Linked DNA regions of Homo sapiens: regions 1, 3, 4, 5 and 6 are each linked to region 2. The links are contacts of gene promoters, found by promoter capture Hi-C in human tissues and cell types (Jung and others, 2019). All regions are on one chromosome and are shown on one strand. The core of a region is centred on a gene start or on the middle of the fragment in contact, and the rest is flanking DNA. Distances in the headings are between cores, read along the strand shown.

What was found. The method cuts DNA at HindIII sites, captures the fragments that hold promoters and counts their contacts. A contact is called where the count stands out against the background at its distance.
Region 1: a fragment that was not itself captured here is called in contact with the fragment with the promoter of SNAI3 in region 2 in 1 of the 25 tissues and cell types used here (dorsolateral prefrontal cortex).
Region 3: a contact is called between the fragment with the promoter of ANKRD11 here and the fragment with the promoter of SNAI3 in region 2, in 1 of the 25 tissues and cell types used here (dorsolateral prefrontal cortex).
Region 4: a contact is called between the fragment with the promoter of CPNE7 here and the fragment with the promoter of SNAI3 in region 2, in 3 of the 25 tissues and cell types used here (heart left ventricle, heart right ventricle and spleen).
Region 5: a fragment that was not itself captured here is called in contact with the fragment with the promoter of SNAI3 in region 2 in 4 of the 25 tissues and cell types used here (IMR-90 fibroblasts, aorta, dorsolateral prefrontal cortex and 1 more).
Region 6: a fragment that was not itself captured here is called in contact with the fragment with the promoter of SNAI3 in region 2 in 3 of the 25 tissues and cell types used here (adrenal gland, bladder and small bowel).

The regions. Positions count from the first base shown.
Region 1 is chr16:89,332,197-89,335,700 of GRCh38, reverse strand. All of the region lies in intron 2 of ANKRD11 (ankyrin repeat domain containing 11), which reads left to right. The region is part of intron 1 of LOC128462377; the gene reads left to right. Among named protein-coding and RNA genes, the nearest start is that of ZNF778, 120 kb to the right of the region's middle. RefSeq lists a silencer at 1-19. The HindIII fragment of the contact is 3,212 bases long and covers 1-2,974 here.
Region 2 is chr16:88,684,673-88,687,962 of GRCh38, reverse strand. It overlaps SNAI3 (snail family transcriptional repressor 3), which reads left to right and starts at 1,456. Exons shown (of 3, transcript NM_178310.4): 1 at 1,456-1,632. The coding sequence starts at 1,557. It overlaps SNAI3-AS1 (SNAI3 antisense RNA 1), which reads right to left. Exons shown (of 4, transcript NR_024399.1): 4 at 777-1,172. RefSeq lists silencers at 1,176-1,635, 1,686-1,845. The HindIII fragment of the contact is 11,241 bases long and covers 1-3,290 here.
Region 3 is chr16:89,488,952-89,492,296 of GRCh38, reverse strand. It overlaps ANKRD11 (ankyrin repeat domain containing 11), which reads left to right and starts at 1,736. Exons shown (of 13, transcript NM_013275.6): 1 at 1,736-2,052. LOC101930112 (a long non-coding RNA gene) reads right to left here and starts at 1,327. Exons shown (of 2, transcript XR_933895.4): 1 at 911-1,327. RefSeq lists silencers at 1,017-1,066, 1,187-1,276, 1,477-1,956, 2,531-2,580, 2,661-2,770 and 1 more and enhancers at 2,162-2,676, 2,677-3,190. The HindIII fragment of the contact is 15,043 bases long and covers 1-3,345 here.
Region 4 is chr16:89,573,666-89,577,059 of GRCh38, reverse strand. CPNE7 (copine 7) reads right to left here and starts at 1,302. Exons shown (of 15, transcript NM_153636.3): 1 at 989-1,302. The coding sequence starts at 1,162. RefSeq lists silencers at 1,839-1,908, 2,149-2,378, 2,839-3,096. The HindIII fragment of the contact is 23,727 bases long and covers 1-3,394 here.
Region 5 is chr16:89,232,896-89,236,077 of GRCh38, reverse strand. ZNF778 (zinc finger protein 778) reads right to left here. Exons shown (of 7, transcript NM_001201407.2): 7 at 1-3,182. Among named protein-coding and RNA genes, the nearest start is that of ZNF778, 17 kb to the right of the region's middle. The HindIII fragment of the contact is 6,577 bases long and covers 1-3,182 here.
Region 6 is chr16:89,512,426-89,516,047 of GRCh38, reverse strand. SPG7 (SPG7 matrix AAA peptidase subunit, paraplegin) reads right to left here. Exons shown (of 17, transcript NM_003119.4): 3 at 3,011-3,100. Among named protein-coding and RNA genes, the nearest start is that of SPG7, 5.8 kb to the right of the region's middle. The HindIII fragment of the contact is 3,235 bases long and covers 710-3,622 here.

The sequences.
Region 1 (3,504 bases), core at 119-2,618, 650 kb before region 2:
GCTCATGTGCTGTGTCCTGAGGGCTCAGCTGAGGTGCAGAGACACAGACTTGTCATCTTACCTCAGCTTGTGTGTGTGACGGGGCTTTGCAAACCAAAGGTTCCCTGCCAAAGCGACGTCACTCGCTGTTCTGCTACAGGGTCCTGAGGCAGCACGCACAGGCTTTCATGGGAGTGGTATAGCGTTCATAGGGAGAGGAGGGAGAGCACCTGCCCTAACCCACTGCGTACTGCGTGCTAGGTGGGAACCCACTCATCCTGAAGCTCAGGACGGCAGAGACCCCTGAATGCAGAGGCCTCAAGCTGCTCCCATGCTTCTGGGACCTGTGGGACTCACGGATGCCTCGGTGTGGATTTGTTCCTGTGCTGGAAGGAACTGGAGCCCTCTGTGCAGCCCTGTTGCAGCCCCTGCTTGGGGGTGCACTGGCCTCTTCTGGGAACAGGGGTGGTGTGAGGCTGTCACCCGCGTCTCCCAGCCTGCATGGAACGCCAGGACAATGGGGAAGGCACGCACTGAGCTCACTTCCTGTGCTTTCCACAGTGCCCCCACAGGCCGGACATGGGGCATCAGGGTGTGTCCTGATTAGTTATTTGGGGAGGTGGTCAGCAATCAGTGTTAGTCGTTTTTTATTGTTCTTTGCGGTATAACATCCGTGGAGGAAATGGCACACATCTTAGGTGCACATACGATAGAGCTCATGTCACATGTACCTGTGGGATCTCCTCCTGGACCTCCCCTCCACTCTGCTGCTTGACTGTCTGCCTGGCCCCCAGCACCATGGGGCCCTCATGCATGCAGAAGGCCACAGCAGACACACTCGTGTCTGGCTCTTCGAATCCAGTGTGCTGTCTATGGACACGTGCGCCCCGTGTGTTGTGGGCCACCTGGACTCATTTGCTCTTCTGCTGGTGGACACGTGGGTGGGCTTTTTGCAGTTTGAGGGTGTTTTGCACAAGTGAGTGTGGTATGACGTGGTTGGCGGCCTGTGCTGCTCATCCCTGGGGTGTGCCTGGGATGTTGCTCCTGGGCCCTCGTGGATGTGGCCCCTCATGGAGCGTGGCTGAGACTGCGCTGGGCTCTGCTTGCTCTGGGTCAGGGTCTGGCCTACCCACCTGGCTGCTTCTCATGGCCCCATAGCATGCCGCATGCCCACTGCCCACATGGGTGGGGTGTTTTCTCGTCACTTTGCCAGCCTGGAGTTGGACGTGGTGGGACACTCCCCCTTTGTGAGAGGAAGCAGAGCAGTGGAGGAAGAGAGGACTCCTCAGAGAATGGCAGGCTTGGAGGGGTAAGAAGAGCTGGACCCACTCAGAACCTGAGAGGAGGTTGTTTCTGTTCAGTCTTGGGGTACCCTCACATGTCACCAACTTCAGAAACTTGGCCGTATTGGCAGTACACTCACTGGGGGTTGACTCCCAGTCAGCAGGGATTGTGAAGGCCATTGATGAGGGCTAGGCCAGGCATCAGACATTGTCCTGAGCCCGCAGCTTGGGAACAGTGTTTTTTCTTTCTTTCTCTCTCTCTCTGTTTTTTTTTTTTTTTTTTTTTTTTTTTTTAAAACACAGGGTTTCATCATGTTACCCAGGCTGGTCTTGAACTGGGCTTAAGTGATCCACCCACCTCAGCCTTCCAAAGTGCTTGTTTTACAGGCTTGAGCCACTGCACCTGGCCTTATTTCTGTATTTTATAGATTGAGAAACTTAGATATATCTGACCACAGATTGAGGGCTCTTAACCAGTTAGGCCAGCATTTGAATTGTCCTGACTGCTTCCAGTGGTGAGAAAGTAGTTTATCTCTCTGTTCACAACACACGCCCACATACTGGGAACATACTCACAGAATAATACCGTCCCTTTCTGTGATGGTGTGCAGTGCCCCCTAATGTTTCCTGTTCTGTATTATTTCACTTTCACAAAATGGCTTTATTCATAATTGCCAAAACTTGGAAGCAGCCAAGATGTCCTGCAGAGGGTGAATGGATCAGTCAACCAAGGTCCATCCAGACGACAGACTATTACAAGGCCCTAAAAACAGACGAGCTGCCAGGCCTGAGTGAAAGCAGCCCGTCTCCAAGGACTACACACTGTAGGGTTCCGACTCTGACATCCAGGAAAGGGCAAAACTGTGCAGACAGCACAAAGATCAGTGACGCCAGGGGCTGGGGAGAGGGAGGGACGGAGGGTTGTGCAGCAGGAACACGGGGGACCTGGGGCAGTGAAACTACTCTGTATGATACCACAACGGTGGGTCCACATCAGGATACGTTCGTCCAACCATAGACTGCACAGCACCCGGTGGACCCTGAGGTCGTGCGGCCTGTGGGTGATGATGCTGTGTCCAGGGGGGTCTCAGCTGTAACAAACGGCCACTCTCGTGGGGATGCTGAGCCCGGGGGTGCAGGGGAACCCTCTGTACTTCATGCTCAATTTTGCTGTGAACCTAAAGCTGCTTTAAAAAATAAAATATGTTTTATTTTCAGTGTCTGTTTAACATGCTAAAATGATTCTGGAATTGACCTTAGGCATGACCCAAAAGTTGTGATGCATCTTTGACTGGAGTTCCCAGAGCATTGTTGAGCTTGGCCACTGAGTCTGTGACCTCACACCAGGGGGCAGGCGTTTTTCTGCATGCCCCACAGGGGCCCTTCTTCCCTGGGGGTTCCCTGTCACTCTGGGGGACCACGTGTGAAATTCCCCGGGTGCACAGGATGGGAAAATGGCTGAGAAGCGTGGAGCAGCCCCGCTGTTCTGTTGCAGCTCGTTTCTTGAGTTTGTAACTACGTTCTCAACTGTGGACCCTTGCGTTAAAAAACAAAGCAGCCCTAAGGAGTAATAAAACATTTGAGCATAAAGGAAAGAAATGGACGTTTCTAAGGGAATTGCTTGCTTTCTCAGTTGTACCAGGATAACCTCCTTGGAGGTGTGGAGGTGTGAAACTAGGGAGGTCAGGGCAGCGGGGCACTTTCCTCAGAGAGGGCAGTGCAGACCAGGCCCTGCCGGAGGAGAGCCCTGCCTGGTCTCAGCGCCTCTCTCGTTGTGTTTGTCGTTTGCTTTTTTCTAAAGCCATTACAGTGATGATAACTTGGATTTAGATAGTGCTTTTTCATTTAATCCCCACAAAATCCTTTAGGAGAATGGGTTCTTGTCCTCATTTTATAGAGGAAGTTGGTGAGAATCAGTGAGCAGACGAGGCTGTTTTCTTGCATTTGTCTTGGCCTGCAGGTGTCATTTCTCCCCAGAGCTGCGGGTACAGGTGCTGCCGTTGTGGAGGGACGTGTGGAGCTGTAAGGCATCTCTGTCCTCGGGGACTTGGGGGGCTCAGTGTTTCTTTCTGAAAAGGTACAGCCCACCAGAGGTGCTTGGGCCATCCCAGGACTTCACGGAGCTGAAGAGCGTTCACCAGGTGTTTCTCATGAGTTGGGTTTTTAGTTTTTTGTCTGTTTCAGTGTTTATAGTCTGCTTGTAAAATGATCCTTTATTGTGAGGATTCTTTAATACGTAAGG
Region 2 (3,290 bases), core at 207-2,706:
TCACAGCCTTGGTCTTCTTTTTTGTTTTTTTTTAATTTTTTGAGACAGGGTCTTGCTCTGTTGTCCAGACTGGAGTGCAGTGGGGTCATCATAGCTCACAGCAGCCTCCACCTCCTGGAGGCTACTGCAACAAGCAATCCTCCCTCCTCAGCGTCCTGAGTAGCTGGGACTGAAGATGGGTGTTGCCACGCCTGGCTAATTAAAATAATTTTTTTTTTTTTTTTTGTAGAGACGGGGTCTCATGTTGTTTTTCAGGCTGGTCTCAAACTCCTGGGCTCAAGCAGTCCTCTTGTCTCAGCCTCCCACAGTGCTGGGATTACAGGCGTGAGCTGCTGAGCCCAGACTCACAGCCTAGTTTTTTTTCATTGGCAAAGTGGGGCTGATACTAGCCCAGCTTTTCACACCCTGGACGTGTGATGTGGGACGTGGGATGCTGGTGTGGCACGGCCCTCCTCCCTGCTGTCTGTCCCTCAGAGCTTCCATGGACTCACCACCCCCCACCTTCTCCACCCCCGGCCCACAGGGGGCAAAGGCCACCCAGCTCTGAGGTGGAAGCCCTGCTGGGGAGGCAGGCCGGCGGCACAGCCAGGGACACCCTGTGTGCACGCCAGCCCAGAGACGGCCCCACCTGGCCCCCAACGTTATGAAATGTCCATGTCAAAAGAGACCCAGACACTGGACACAGCGGCTCCCAGCTTTTTATGACCCTGAGGGCTCTACAGGACCACAAAGGAGGGAAACGGATTGCCCAGGTCACACGTGCAGCTGTTGCAGAATTCACGTGATTCACCGGTTTTATTAAACTTCCCATAACCATGTCTGACCCCCTGGGAATTCCAGAATTCCAGGCCAAGTCCTCCGTCCCCCAAAAAACAGCTTTCTGGAGGCACTGGACAAACTCCTAAAGGGCTGACTCCAGTGGGGGAAGCCTTCGGAGACTGCAGCCCATCCAGAAAGGACCACTGTCTCCAGGCCACCGGTCCCGGGCCTGTTCCAGAGCCGCCAGTAGGGCTGGTCACTAGGGTCAGCTTCGTTTCGCCTGGGCTCTCCCCATCAATCCTGTCCTGTGAGTTTGCAGAAGGGATGGGGAGGCGAGGCCAGGCCGCAGAGTGAGCGTCATTCTCCGCAGCAAGGGTTCTCCAAGGACCGCGCTCGGCCGACGCTTCCACATTCTGTGGAAGAGATTCTCGCTCGGTTTCCACACAGCTTTGAACTCTGCCCTTCACTCACGGCGAGTGGGTGGCCAGGCCCGACGGGTCGGTGTGTGACTCGGCGGCGCGCACGCCAGAGAATTCCCGTGGGGAGGACACCGGCGGCCACGCGCTCCCCGCCCCGTCCCGCCCGCGCACCTGTCCTGGGCGTGTTGCCCGAGACCCCGCCTCGCCCTCAGTTCCGCCCCCGTGGCCCCGCCCCACTCGCGCCGGGCGCTGGTTGGCGGAGGCGGCGCGCTATGCTAATGAGCCTGACCCCTTCAAGCGCCGGCGGACGCAGCAGTCCGGACCCAGGCGCGCCCCTCCCGCCCCAGCCCACCCCGGCCTGCCGCCCGGGAGGGGAACATGCCGCGCTCCTTCCTGGTGAAAACGCACTCCAGCCACAGGGTCCCCAACTACCGGCGGCTGGAGACGCAGAGAGGTACTGACTACCCGATCCCCGAGCCCCTGCCGGGACTCGACCCTGAGGGGCGGGAGAGAGAGAGAGGCCCCTGGGAGCGGGGGCTGGGGAGACACCTGTCCCAGGTGGGAGGAGAAGGAGCCAGCGCCTCTGCGCAGCGGCTGCGGCTGCAGGGAGGGAGGTGGCCCACGGGCGCCTCCACTTCAGGGCACTGAGCCCCGCCTCCGGCAGGGCGGGCGGGATTCTCTCCCAACTTGGAGAAGTTTTCTAAGTTTTCTAAGCCCCCAAGTCTCCCTGGAACTCACCCCTGATATACAGCCGCCCGTCCCAACCACTACAGCCCCAGCTAAAGGCACCCTGGAGTCATCTTCCTGGCGCACACGTTTGGGAGGGGTCGCGGGGTGGTGGGTGGGAGGGAAGGAGGGCCGTCTGGGGCGGCCCGGCTCAGGGACCCCCGGAGCATGCTGACTGGGGGTGTAAGCACAGGGGATGGTGAGAAGGACACATGGGCTCTTTCTGGTGCAAAGGCACTGCCCCTCCTGCATTCAGTTCAGGTGAGCCTCCGCCCGTGGTCTCCCTCCCTCCCCCACCTCCCTTCACCCCAGAAGCCCTCCTGCTCACCCCGGCAGGCTTGCCTGGGCAGGCTGGGCTAAAGGGCTGCAATCCTCCACACACCGGCTAGGCTGGGGAGATGGGTGCCCAGCAACCGGGCTGCCCGTTCATTCCCACTGCCTGCTAGGCTTAGGGACACGAGAGAAGAGGACTCTGTCCTTCAGAGGACAGCCTGCCACACGGGCGGTGAGAGCAGTCCCCACCTGGCTTGGCAGCTTCTTGGGACAAAGGCCCACTGAGGGGCGCCGGCGGACGCGGTGGTCGGGACTCACGCTCTGTGGCCGGTGGGGGAGAGCAGGAAGGGCGCTGTTGGGGCTGTGGCCCCCAGCAACACCGCCAAGAGGCCTTTATCCCAGCTCAGAACCCAGAGTTGGGGATGGGGGGGATCCCACCTGGACCCACACCCGAGGCCCGGGCTGCCACCAGGGGGTGCCAGCTAGGACCATGCTTTTCAAATGTGCATTTTGAAATCAGTTTCATCAGTCACCCCCAGCAATTTTGTAAAATAAAATAGAGCAGAAACTGCCGGAGTGCCTGGCTCATGGTGAAGGACACTGGCTTCTGTTATGTGTATGTGGATGCGCATGTGACTACACATGTGTGCGGAATTTACATGGGTAATAGTTGCAAGTTTCAAAGTGTTGCTTAGGGTCCATCCCAGTGTGCAAATCTGGGTAGCTGTGCTGGGCCCAGTGGGCAACTGTCGTGAGTAGCCGTGCTGCCCCGCAGTGCTCTCTGCTCCCCGCCCCCGCTCCCCTCCTCACTGTAGCCCCAGCTGCCTGGCTTTCTGACAGCCAGGGGGCCCTGGCAACTTTCTGCCAAGATGTTACCCCAGGATAGACCTGAGGTGCTGGGATTTGGGGCCCCTCAATCTCTCCTTTTAAATAAATGGCTCCTATGGCTCCCCAGGGAACCCCTGAAGCCAGCAAGGTACTTAAACAGTCTCTTCAGCTGGGTGTGGCGGCTCATGCCTGTAATCTCAGCACTTTGGGAGGTCGAGGACGGCAGATCACTTGAGGTCAGGAGTTCGAAACCAGCCAACATGGCGAAACCCCGTCCCTACTAAA
Region 3 (3,345 bases), core at 487-2,986, 800 kb before region 2:
TTGGATCACCTCTTCGTGAACGCACATCAGCGCATACGCCGGCTGTTTTTATCAGGCGCTCACCCCTCATCCAATGGCGTGACTAGTTGTGGGTGGAGCCCGAAATCTGGCTGCCTAGAGAAGGCTGAAGGTCCAGTTATAGCATAACTAATGTTTCCCCAGAGCTCACATACGTGCCAAGCACCGTGCTACAGCCTCCACAGCCCCTTCATTTAATCTTCCCGATGGGCCTATGAAATAGGTGCTCCTGGCCCGCACCGTGGCTCATGCCTCTAATCCCAGCACTTTGGGAAGCTGAGGAGGGAGGGTCGCTTGAGTCCAGGATTTCAAGACCAGCCTGGGAAACACACAGAGAGCCTATCTCTACGAAAATTTAAAAAATTAGCCGGGTGTGGTGATGCCTGACTGTGGTCCCACCTACTTAGTAGGCTAAGGTGGGAGGATCCTCTGAGCCCGGGAAGCTGAGGCTGCAGTTAGCACTGCACTCCAGCATGGGCGACAGAGTGAGACCCTGACTCAAAAAAAAAAAAAAAAAAGAATAGGTGCTACTTGTAGTTCCCATTTTACCCACCAAGAAACTGAAGATCTGAGAGACAAAGCCTACAGGGTGACCGCTAGTCACTGGTAGGGCTGGGATTTGAACAGGGGCGGTTTAACAACTGATCTCTCGACCATAATGCGTGTTGCCCAAGAAAAAAGACCGTCCTCACGGTCCTATCCACTCCGGACTTTGCAATTCCGTTATTTCGTAAATTGAGGCCTATAAATAGTTTGCTTACCCGTTGTCTTAGTCCCCAGTAACATGCAGAACTAAAGAAGAAACTGAAGGAGCACCGATTTTGTTCACCTTGCTTTTTGGTTTAGTTCTGGAGGAGAACACAGGTGCACTTAGAACAGGATCCACACTTACCAGAGGCTTGATTCATTTTAGCTGCAAAGAAAACCAGTCCTCGTCTACCTTTTTCGCGTGTTGGAGAACTAACTAGCAAGGCAGGGAATGCGGTTCGTGGGCGCTTGGCCTCCTCAAGCGGCTCAGGCTCTCAGAGCGCGAGGCCCAGGGGCTCTGGAGCCGCGGCCGCGACGCGCCCGAGGGCCGTTCTCTTCGACGGCAGAGCAAGAGTCACCGCGCGGGAGCCCCGAGCGACCGCCCCGCTGCCCCGGTACCCTCCCCTCGCAGCCGCCCAGAGCTCTTCATGCCCCGTGACGCCCGTTAGGGCAGCGCGGCCGGAGGCCGGGCCGGACGTGGCCCGAGATGTCCGGGGGCAGGCAGAAGACCACGGGCACGCGACAGGCAACCGCCGCCTCGGCTCTAGAGGTGGACGTTTTGTCTCCCTGCGCTTCAATACCAGATTTTGTTTCCAGACGACATCCCTGTTGCTTCCGGCACTTGGAAAGACCAATCGTCAGGCCCGAGAATGCAAGACCCACCCTCCTTTGCGACGGAGGCAGCCAATCCAGTTGCTCGCTACTTCCAGTGTCGCATGCGCCCTTACGCAGGACCCTGCCCAATCGTTACCGGGACGTCCTCCTAGTCCCGCCTCCGGACCGCCAGAGAGGCTGTCAATCCCGCCTCTCTCCTTCACTCCATTAGCGCACTAACTCACGGCGCTGTGACGTGCACAGCCCCTGCGGCCGGCCGGGGCGGGCCAATGGCGGTGGCGGATACGGCGGGCCAATGGGCGGGAGCGTCTCATGCGGCCGGCTCCCGCCGCAGCCGCCGCTGGGTCCTGGAGCCAGAGGCCGCCCTGAGACGGTGCGCGATGGACCGAGGGCCCCAGCCGGGGAGGCGCCGCCGCCGAGCCCGCGGCCAGACGCCCCATCAGTAGCGTCCGCACCGGGAGCCGCGGCTCTCGCCCGAGCCGTGGGCGCGCCCGAGGGGCGGGCTCGCCTCCCGCCGTCCCTCGCAGCTCTGCCGGGCCCGAGCCCGCGCCGCCGCCGCCGCCGCCTTGCCGCTCGGGCCGCGCGGCCCGGGAAACGCGGCCGCGGGCTGCATGGGCAGCGCCCGCGCCCCGCCGCTGAGCCGTCGCGGAGCCGCGCAGCCCTCGGAGCACGGTGAGAGGCGCCGCTGGTCTGGGGGCGGTGGTCGGGGCGGGCACGGGGCATTCGCGCGGCCTTGCGGCCTGCAGGCCTTCCCCGGCGACGGAGCTGCGCCGCGGGCCTCCGGGCGGGCCTGGGGGGTCGGGGCCGGGTGGGCGGGGGTCTTTGGGGGCCCGGGGCGATCGTGAGGGACCAATAATGGGTCCCGGAGCGGGCCTACGGGTCCGGGTTCGGGGCAGCCGGGGGTCTTTGGGGGCCCGGGGTGGCCGTGAGGGGCCCATAGGGGGCTCCGGGGGGGGCCTGGGAGGTCGGCGGAGCTTGGGTCGGCCGTAAGGGGCGGACGGGGGCTCCGGGCGGGCCTGGGTGGCCGGGGGCCCGCGGCGGCTCTGAGGGGCCGATTGGGGGCTCCGGGGCGGGCCTGGGGGCCGTGGGGGCCCGGGGCGGCCGTGAGAGGCGGACAGGGGGCTCCGGGGCGGGCCTCGGGGGCTCGGAGCGGCCGTGAGGGGCGGACGGGGGGCTTCGGGGCGGGCCTGCAGGTCTTGGGGACCTGAGGCTGCCGGGAGGGGCTGCCAGGGGGCGCTGGCCGGGCGCCGGGTTCTGCGGAGCTGGGGCGCCGACCTCTGACCCGCGAGAGGGGCGCCTTCGCCGTGCTGGTCGTAGTTGTTATTCTCAGCGTCCCTATTATTATCGCTGTTTTGAAATGAGAGCAGGCGGCTCTCGGGCTCCGAGCCGGAGGGGGAGGGCGAACTGGGGACCTGGGGGCGTCGGGGTTGCAGGAGGCGCGCGTAGGCCGAGGAGGGGCAGGAATGCGGGCAGCCGTGTGGGGGGTGTTAGGGGGAGGGTAGGCGGGCGGGTGTGGGGGGTGGCTGGGAGGAAAGCGGTGGCGGTGGCGGCTGCAACAGCAGCCCTTGGCCTCAAGGAACAATGTGAGACGTTGCCTGAAATGTTAATTTCCGTTCCTCATTTCATCATCCCCTGGCAGGGCGGTAGCTGTGTGTGTGGTGTATGTGTGTGCGCGCGCGCGCGCGCGCGCGTGTGTGTGTGTGTGTAGGGTTGGCCCTGCCACATTGATTCAGTCCCCTCTCAAAGAGGGATTGTACTGTTAACTCTTGTGTTTGTGTTATTTGGGAAGGTTGGTCGGGGGGAGTCTTGATTTTTCTCGAGGCTTGCTCTTTTCCTGGTGCCCCATTAAGATTTTCTGCTTCTGTTGTGTTTTTGGAAGGTTAGTGTTATATATCAGCTTCCAAGAAGTTTTGGAAGAGGCTTGGGAAGATGAAGCTGGTCTAACAGCTCCCTATGCTTTGAAAC
Region 4 (3,394 bases), core at 53-2,552, 890 kb before region 2:
TCAGAATCCTGAAAAATCCTGCACCTCAAACCAAGGGCAAACATGGGCCACCCGTACAGCTCACGCTCTGAGGGTGCGGGCACGAGGCCTCCGTGGGGATGGTGGGCTCGGGATGTGAAGGGTGGGCTCAGGCTGTGAGGGGCGGGCACGGGGCCTCCGGGGGCAGCCGGAACCCTGGGGACAGGCGGTGAGGGCGGGGCAGGCCCTTCACCCTCAAGGTGGATGACCGGAGACGCCACCGGGTGACCGCGTCCCTTCCACCGCCCGAGCAGCCGCCCGGGCCCGCGCTGGAGCCTGGAGAGACCCCTGCGCCGGGGAAAAGCGCTGGCGCCCCGCGCGGACTGGGGTTCGAGTTCCGGCTCCTCCGCCCGCTGCGGCTTCGCGCCATGCGTTTCTCGCCCTTTCGAGGTGAAGCCACGCGTTTCACGCGAGATGGTGACCGAGGAAGCGCCCGTCTGGCGCCGGCCCCGTGCCCCTTCGGACCCCAACCGCGATCACAGCGGGTTCGCTTGAGACCCACGTTGGAGCGGGAGCCCCGGACGCCTGGAGGTCCGCACCCCAGCGCGCGCTCCCTCGCCGGCCTGCTCCCGCCCAGCCTCCCGCCCCCCGTCGGCCGGCGCCCCTCACCCCTCAATCTCCTTGCGCCTCTTGGTCGAGCCCCCTGCCCGCGCCTCATGCCTGGGCGCTTCACTCTGGCCCGGGGCCCCCTCCCCGAACCCTGGGCCGCACCCCTCACTGCGGGGCACCCCCCTCTCTCCTCCGAACCCCGCTCGCCGCCACCTCCTCCAGCCCAGCCTCTCCCCACAGCTCTGGACACCCCACCCCCAGACCTGGTAACCCCCAACCCTGACCCCGAGCTGAGCCCCAGCTCCGGGGGGCCCCGCCTTGCGCCCCACTGGCCTCAGCGCGCCCGCTCTGGTCTCCGCATCCCCAGCTCGGCGCCAGCCCCGGCCCGGTGGCCTCTCGGCCTCCCACGCCCCGGCCCTACCTGCACCCACTGGCCCTGCGCCTGCTGCAGCAACGCCACGCTGGGGTCGGACTTGGTGAGCGGGTCGCGGTCCAGCAGGTGCCGGCAGCTGAGCCGCAGCTCCACCTTCGAGGCGCAGGGCGCGGGCAAACCCCCGGGGGTTGCCGCCGCCCCGCGCTCCGAGCCCGCGCTCATGCTCCCGGCGTTCGGGGGCCCGGCTGGGCGCACTGAGGGGCCGCTGCCCGCGAGTCGGCGCCGCCGCGGCGCCCGGGAAATGGTGGCCGGCCCAGGCGTGGCCGCGCTTCCCTGAACGCCTGCCGGGCGCGGGCGCACGTGGCTCGGGCGGCCGCCGCGCGGGGACTGCAGGGGGTGGGGCGCGGCCGGGGGGCGGGGCCGGGGAGGGGCGCGGCGGGAAATGAGGGCAGGGGGCAGAGGCAGGGGTGCCCCTCGGAGATGCCCGGGAGGAGACAGCTTCTAATTCCCCGGGGACCCCCCCCCCAACTGATAGCTTTGGGGTCAGGTCGGGCGCGCCCTCCCCGGCTGTGCGCATCCCCGGCCCAGGGACCGGCTCCGGGCTGGAGGCTCCGAGCTGCGCGGGGCCTGAGCCCGGGTTCGGACCCAGGCAGACACTAGGGGAGGCAAAAGGGGGACCCCAGCTTGGCACCAGATCCCCGCGCCCTTCCCGGATCTCTAGGATCCCATTTCCAGGCTCCGCTGGTTTCGGGTACTCGCCACCTCCATCAACAAGCATTTAGTGGGCGCCTGTTGTGTGCAGGCGCCGCGCTCGTCTGGGGCTGGAAGGACCGTCCCGGGGGGCCGAGGGCTGAATCGCGGTCTGATTCCGAGGGGTCCGCGGGGCACGGTCCACACCAGTCCCCCGAGGCCGGGGCGGGGCGGGGCAGGCCTGGGTTCCGTGGGGGGTGGGCCCGCTCCGCCCTGAACTCACTCCCCCACCTTCCCCATCACCGGTCCCGGGGGAGGGAGCAGCGGAAGAGGAGGCGTCGGCGGGGACAGAAACCACCTCGCAGTCCACTCTTTTTGCCGATTTCTGCCTAAAAATAGGGCACGGACCTCGCCAAAAGCCACGGGGGTGGGGGGCGAGGGTGAGGGAGACATTAAGACTGAAGAGGCGGGAAGACCGGGCGCCTCCGCTCAGCCTCGGCGATCAGGACTCTAGAAGAAGACCCTGCGGTCAGAGGGGACCGCCGCCGACAGGGCGAGGAGGCTCAGGGCCCCGCCGGCGGGAGGCAGCACAGGCAGCCTCGGCCTGGGAGGAGGAACGCGGCCAGCGGCGTCCCCTCGCGGTCGGACGGCGGGATGGCGCCGGGCGCGGCTGCAGGGCGGGGAGGCCCCACGGGGCTGGCAGGGCCGGGAGAGGCCATGGAGACCGGCTCCTGCCTTCCCGGGAGGTTGGCTAAAGAGGCGAGGAACAGGTCAGGGCGCAGCGAGGCCTGCAGGGCCCCATCTGCTGTCTCCCCGGCCTCTGCGCCTCCTCCCTGAAGCCCGCAGTGGGCAGAGGCCAGTCCCGCTCTCTAGGGACCAGTCTGGGCCTTCCCGGCCCTGTGTCCTCCTCAGCCCAGCCTTCCAGGCTGCCGGGAGGCCACATCCTCGGTCCCCAACCACTTCCATGGGAAAAGGATGCGAAATTCAGGCAAAGGGTGCGGGCGCCCAGGCAGCTCCTGCAGGCCGTGCCTCCCGCTCGGTTCCAGCAGCCCTGGGACAGTTTTCCCCAGACCAAGCTCCGCTTCCTGCCTTGACCTCACCCGAAAGCTCCTCACCACCGCCCTGAGGTTTGCTCGTCTGCAGTGTGGCGTGAGGCCTGAGGTCCACCAGGCTGTCTGAGGGGTACCCGGCTTAAACCTGGAACACCCCAGTTCAGCCCTTGGCTGTCACATAGCGGCACCCTGGCAAAATAACAGATGGCTTCCAAGCAAAGGACGCAGGGAGCCAAGAAAGATCACAGAGTTTGGGAATTTGAGTCTCTGAAGCCCAGGGCGATTTGGGATCTCCAGCCACAGCCCTCGGCCGGCTTGCTGTCTCCTGACTGACAGCCCTGACTGCAGCCTGCTCTAATGGAGAGAAACCACAGAAGGAAAAGCCGATTCCCCTGTGGCACTGGTGTCTGGACGCTGCCTGCCCCTGCTCAGGGATCAGCCCGCAGTAGGCCCAGGTACAATGGAAGGACCCCGCAGGCCATGTGGAGCCATCTTTCCAAGGCTCCCCCTCCCAGCTTTCCCTGCAGGGCCAGACACAGGAAATGAGATCCACACACATACACGCAGGAATAATAACCGTGTTCCTTGTTGAAATATTAGACAATGCAGATAGGGAGTAAAAACAAATTTCCAGACCCCAAAGCAGCCCATCACCTCCCCACATCTAACCCTCCAGGTTTTTTTTTTTATGTGCAAATTTCTTTTAATTGTC
Region 5 (3,182 bases), core at 557-3,056, 550 kb before region 2:
AGCCTCCCCAGTAGCTGGGACTGCAGTCGCCCGCCACCACGCCCAACTAAATTTTTGTATTTTTCTTTTTTTTTTTTTTTTTTACTAGAGACGAGGTTTCACTGTGTTGGCCAGGATGGTCATGATCTCCTGACCTTGTGATCCGCCCACCTCGGCCTCCCAAAGTGCTGGGATTACAGGTGTGAGCCACCGCCCCCGGCCTGGGCTTGGTTTTCTTTAGGTTTATCCTGTCTGGGGCTCATGGAACCTCTTCAAACTTAAGTTTTTATCTTACACCAAATATGAGAAATGTTTCATCATTATTTTTTCAAGTGGTTTTACTACATCACACTTTCTCCTTTTCTTCCAGGATACTGAGGTCATGAATGTTAGCCATTTGGTATCATAACACTGCTCCCCAAGGCTGTTGCACATATGCTGAATAATTTAAGATTATAGTCTACACTTCTGAATTTTAGGTTATGACACTCTGGGTCTGTCAGTCCCACGGGTGATGGAGATACTGGTTCATCAGGCGAGTAACCTAGTCAGGTTCAGGAGGCAAGTTCTATTGAAACCATGTGGGTCGTGCTTTCCATGTTGATTCTGTCTTAAAGCCTACGCAGAACTGCTCATGTCTCTTCTCGGGCGAGGCTCGTCCACCTACAGAGTGGTCAACCTCACAGGCCAGCTCCTAAGGCTGATGATGTGTTTGCTGCTGCAGGACTGCCTGGAGGCCAGGGCAAGCGAATGGGAAAAACTAAACTTTCGGATTTTTTCTCTCACAGTGTTAGGACACCTGTTTCCCACTCGTTGTGTGAAAACGGAAGTCAGCATGAGGCCCCGATCTGGAGCCTAGTGGGTGCTGGTGCCAAGCTTCTGGGACCCTCCAGGCCTTCAGAATTGTGAACAAAATAAACCTCTTTTCTTCATTAAAAAAAAGAGGCCTTGCAAAAATTTTTATGTCCATAGTGGGAAAAATGACATTACACTCTACAGATACGGTCAACAAAAATCAACTCCAAATGGATTAAGCAACTTGGGATAAAACATAGAAACTGTGGAAGCCAAAATAGTACAGCATATTTAAGGCCTTAGGAGAAAAGAAATTTCTGATGAAGATAAAGGAAAGGTTGTATAAATTTGAGTATGCCAAAATTAAGAAATATTTTTCCTTTTTTTTTGAGACAGAGTCTCACTCTGTTGCCAGGCTGGAGTGCAGTGGCGCGATCTCGGTTCACTGCAATCTGTGCTTCCCATCTTCAAGCAATTCTCCTGCCTCAGCCTCCCAAGGAGCTGGGATTACAGGCGTGCACCACCACATCTAGCCAATTTTTCTATTTTTAGTAGAGATGGCGTTTCACCATGTTGGCCAGGATGGTCTTGATCTCCTGACCTTGTGATCCACCCACCTCGGCCTCCCAAAGTGTTGGGATTACAGGCCTGAGCCACCACACCTGGCACAATCTTTTTCCTTAAGGCATCATCACAAAAGTGGAAACAGGTGAAGTGGAAACCACTGCAATCTTCTAAGTCACAAGTGGTGACTCACCTCACAACAGCCTCACTATTTCTAAAAAAGAACAAAGATCAAACAAACCAGGAAAAAACAAGACCAGGTACTTCATCCAAAAAGGAAAATAGCCAGCGTAAGCAAAACCATGTTCATACTATCAGTAATGAAGAGAAGTGCAAACCAACACCCCAAGGAGATGCTGTTTCACAACCACTTTGGAAAAAACGTCACTCCCTAAGAAGGTTGAACGAGTAGAGAGAAAGAATAAAACTGCCCAGGAGTCAACATGGCAGTTCCTACAGATAGTTCAAGAATCCCTGGGCTGGGTAAGACCTTGTCACAGACATGTGCTTAGGTAGAGAGACTATGAGGAAAACCACACCACTGGTGGGGCCTAGACGCGGACTCGTCAAGGTGAGTGAGTGACACACACAGGTTCCTGACATGGAAAGTTTATCACTCACAGTGTCAAGAGAAGGCGGCACATCACTCCAGGCAGGGCCCAAGGGGAGCTGCAGAGCTGGGCAGGAGGCAGAAGTCAGAGCCAGGGGAGGCAGAGGCCACAGGGTTTTCACAGGAAAGGCAGGACAGGGCAGGATGAAGTCTGGGGCTGGCTAGTCTGCATACTTCCAGCAGGCCCAAGGGCATACAGCATGTCCTGCTGTCTAGTGCCTCATCCTGGGCTGACTTCAGGGAGGAGAAATACTGGCTTGGTGTGGTAGTTAGAAAAAGGAAGTGGCCGGAAATAAGTACTTGCAACAGTTGAGTTGCATACGCAGTGCGAGCTGAGTTGCATACGCAGTGCGAGTTGAGTTGCATACGCAGTGCGAGTTGAGTTGCATATGCAGTGCGAGTTGAGTTGCATACGCAGTGAGTTGAGTTGCATATGCAGTAAGTTGATTTGCATACGCAGTGCGAGTTGAATTGCATATGCAGAGCGAGCTGAGTTGCATACAGTGTGAGTTGAGTTGCATATGCAGTATGAGTTGAGTTGCGTTGCATATGCAGTGCGAGCTGAGTTGCATATGCAGTGAGTTGATTTGCATACGCAGTGCGAGTTGAGTTGCATACACAGAGCAAGCTGAGTTGCATACGCAGTGTGAGTTGAGTTGCACACGCAGTGCGAGTTGAGTTGCACACGCAGTGCGAGTTGAGTTGCATACGCAGTGCGAGTTGAGTTGCATACGCAGTGCGAGTTGAGTTGCATACGCAGTGCGAGTTGCATACGCAGTGCGAGCTGAGTTGCATACGCAGAGCGAGCTGAGTTGCATACGCAGAGCGAGCTGAGTTGCATACGCAGTGCGAGCTGAGTTGCATACGCAGAGCGAGCTGAGTTGCATACGCAGAGCGAGCTGAGTTGCATACGCAGAGCGAGCTGAGTTGCATACGCAGTGCGAGCTGAGTTGCATACGCAGTGCGAGCTGAGTTGCATACGCAGAGCGAGCTGAGTTGCATACGCAGAGCGAGCTGACTTGCATACGCAGTGCGAGCTGAGTTGCATACGCAGTGCGAGCTGAGTTGCATACGCAGAGCGAGCTGAGTTGCATACGCAGTGCGACTTGAGTTGCATACGCAGAGCGAGCTGGGTTGCATACGCAGAGCGAGCTCAGTTGCATACGCAGAGCGAGCTGAGTTGCATAGGCAGTGAGTGGATTCGCATACGCAGTGCGAGTTGAGTTGCATACGC
Region 6 (3,622 bases), core at 1,078-3,577, 830 kb before region 2:
CCATTGCACTCTAGCCTGGGAAACAAGAGTGAAACTCCAGGCTGGGCACGGTGGCTCACACCTGTAATCCCAGCACTTTGGAAGGCCAAGATGGGCAGATCGCCTGACATCGGGAGTTTGAGACCATCCTTGCCAACATGGTGAAACCCTGTCTCTGCTAAAAATACAAAAAATTAGCTGGGCGTGGTGGCGCACGCCTGTAGTCCCAGCTACTCGAGAGGCTGAGGCAGGAGAATCGCCTGAACCCAGGAAGCAGAGGTTGCAGTGAGCCGAGATCGTGCCATTGCACTCTAGCCTGGCGACAGAGCGAGACCCCATCTCAAAAAAAAAAATAATAATAATAATAGTAATAATAATAATAGAAATGAGGGTCTTAAACTCCTGGGCTCAAGTGATCATCCCACCTTGGCCTCCCAAAGTGCTCAGATTACAGGTGTGAGCCACCGCACCTACCCAGCAAATTTTTTTTTATAAAAAGGTCAGCCGGGCGTGGTGGCTCACACCTGTAATCCCAGCACTTTGGGAGGCCGAAGTGGGGAGATCACGAGGTCAGGAGTTCAAGACCAGTCTGGCCAACATGGCAAAACCCTGTATCTACTGAAAATACAAAAATTAGCTGGGCATGGTGGTGCATGCCTGTAATCCCAGCTACTCAGGAGGCTGAGGCAGGAGAATCGCTTGAACTCAGGAGGCAGGGGTTGCACTGAGCCGACATCGCACCACTGGACTCCAGTCTGGGCAACAGAGCGAGACTCCGTTTCAAAAATAAATAAATAAATACAAAATAAAAGTTAAAAAAAAAAAAGGTCCAGGGCTGGGTGCGGTGGCCCACTCCTGTAATCCCAGCACTTTGGGAGGCTGAGGCACGCAGATCACGAGGTCAGGAGATTGAGACCATCCTGGCTAACACGGTGAAACCGAGTCTCTACTAAAAATACAAAAAATGAGCCGGGTATGGTGGCGGGCACCTGTAGTCCCAGCTACTCGGGAGGCTAAGGCAGGAGAATGGCGTGAACCTGGGAGACGGAGCTTGCAGTGAGCTGAGATCACACCACTGCACTCCAGCCCAGGCGACAGAGCGAGACTCCGTCTCAAAAAAAAAAAAAAAAAAAGGTCAAGGCCAGGCACGGTGGTTCACACCTGTAATCTCAGCACTTTGGGAGGCCAAGGTGGGTGAATCACCTGAGGTCAGGAGTTTGAGACCAGCCTGGCCAACAAGACAAAACCTCATCTCTACTATACAAAAAGAGGGCCTGACGCGGTGGCTCACGCCTGTAATCCTAGAACTTTGGGAGGCCAAGGTGAGCAGATCACAAGGTCAGGAGATCGAGACCATCCTGGCTAACATGGTGAAACCCAGTCTCTAATAAAACAAAAAAATTAGCCGGGTGCGGTGGCGGGTGCCTGTAGTCCCAGCTACTAGGGAGGCTGAGGCAGGAGAATGGCATGAACCCAGGAAGTGGAGCTTGCAGTGAGCCGAGATTGTGCCACTGCACTCCAGCCTGGGCGACAGAGCGAGACTCCGTCTCAAAAACAAACAAACGAACAAAAAACAAAAAATTAGCAGGGTGTGGTGGTGAGCACCTGTAATCCCAGCTACTTCGGAGGCTGAGGCAGGAGAATTGCTTGAACCCGGGAGGGGGAGGTTGCATTGAGCTGAGATCGCACCACTGCACTCCAGCCGGGGCAACAGAGTGAGATTCTGGCAAAAAAAAAAAAAAAAAAAAAAAAAAAAAAAAGTCAAAGGACACACTTTATTGAAATGTTGAAGTATACAGGGAAAGAGCCCTGAAATCAATTCAGAACAATTTTGTATGAAGATTCAGAAGTCTTTTAGAAGATAGTTCTGAGTGGCTGTAAGCATTGACACTTACCGTAAAACCAACAGTAAGCTGAAGATGAGCCTAAAGCCAGAAACGCCTAAACTGAATCCACCTGCGAAACACTGGTGTCCCTTCCCGCAGTTATGACCTCCCCTCGAGAGCTCAGTAGGGAGAGTCAGAGCTCCTCTCTCACAGAGTAAAGCTGTCCCTGGCCTTGGCAAATGCAGCGTCTCACACAAAATCAATCAAGAAGGACGTCACTCCTGAAACAAACTCCTGCTAAACTCGAATTCACAATAATAATCCCCTCATCCAATAGCTGAACCATCATTTCCACATCCTGAAAGCTTTCCTGAAAAGCAACATGGGAAGAAAAAGTCCTTATGACAGTTCCTCACTCGCCTTCCAAGGCCAGGTGCCTTTCTAGAAAGATGAGCTCTGCTGAGCAGGGCGTCCATCTTAACAACGCTGATTTCCAGCGAGAGGCCTCAAGGATCCAAAAGCAAAGCATTCCTGAAGCTGAGTTCAACCCTTCTGCCCCCTGGGGCTGTGAGTCTGAAGCTGAGCCTCCAACTCCTGGGCTCAAGCTCCTCCAACTCCTGAGCTATGACTACAGGTGCACACCACCACGCCTGGCCAATTATTTTCTTCTTTTCTTTCTGTATAGATAGGGTCTTTTTAAATTTAAATTTAAATTTTTTTTTTTTTGAGATGGAGTTTTGCTCTTGTTGCTCAGGCTGGAGTGCAATGGCATGATCTCCACTCACAGCAACCTCCACCTCCCAGGTTCAAGCAATTCTCCTGCCTCAGCCTCCCGAGTAGCTGGGATTACAGGCGTGTGCCATCACGCCCGGCTAATTTTCTATTTTTAGTAAAGACGGGGTTTCACCATGTTGGCCAGGGTGCAGGTGATCCGCCTGCCTCAGCCTCCCAAAGTGCTGGGATTACAGGTGTGAGCCACCACGCCCAGCCTTTTAATTTGCAGTGAGACAGGGTCTCGCTATGTGGTATAGGCCTCAAGTGATCCTTCCACCTGGGCCTCCCAAAGCGTTTCGATTACAAGTGTGAGCCACTGCACCCGGCCCATCTCCCCATTTTCCAGACTGGTTTCACCTTGCTAAAAGGAAAACAGAAATGTAAAGACATCCAGAGGCAGCTACTGACTGAAGAACATCAGATGAATATACCTTCGTCCTCTTCAGGCGCCTTCCCCTTCGACTTATCCTTCTCCTTATTCTTCTGCTTCAACCTTGAGGTGTTAAAATAGAAAGTACCACCTATGAGAAATAGAGAAAGGATTTAACAATTAAGTTTTGCAACCACAGGGGAGGCATACAGGACAACAGTGTACTCCTAAATAACCAAAGCAAAACAAAAACCATCTGAAAAACCTACTTATATCCATAAGATTTATAAATATGAAATAAAGCATATCCTATATCACTTAGTCCAGTATTTCCTAATTACAAAATAATAAACTATTTTAACTTACGTTAAATATCTTTGCTACTTAAATTGCTAATGTGAGGGAATAAAAAATAGTTATGAACACAAATTTGGGAAAATATCACGAATCCCTTTAATATATGAAGTTGCTTTAAAAGAACTTAAACACGCCAGGCGTGGTGGCTCATGCCTGTAATCCCAGCACTTTGGGAGACCGAGGCAGGTGGTTCACGAGGTCAGGAGTTCAAGACCAGACTGGCTGAGATGGTGAAACACTGTCTCCACTAAAAATACAAAAATTAGCCGGACGTGTTGGCAGGCGCTTGTAATCCCAGCTACTTGGGAGGCTGAGG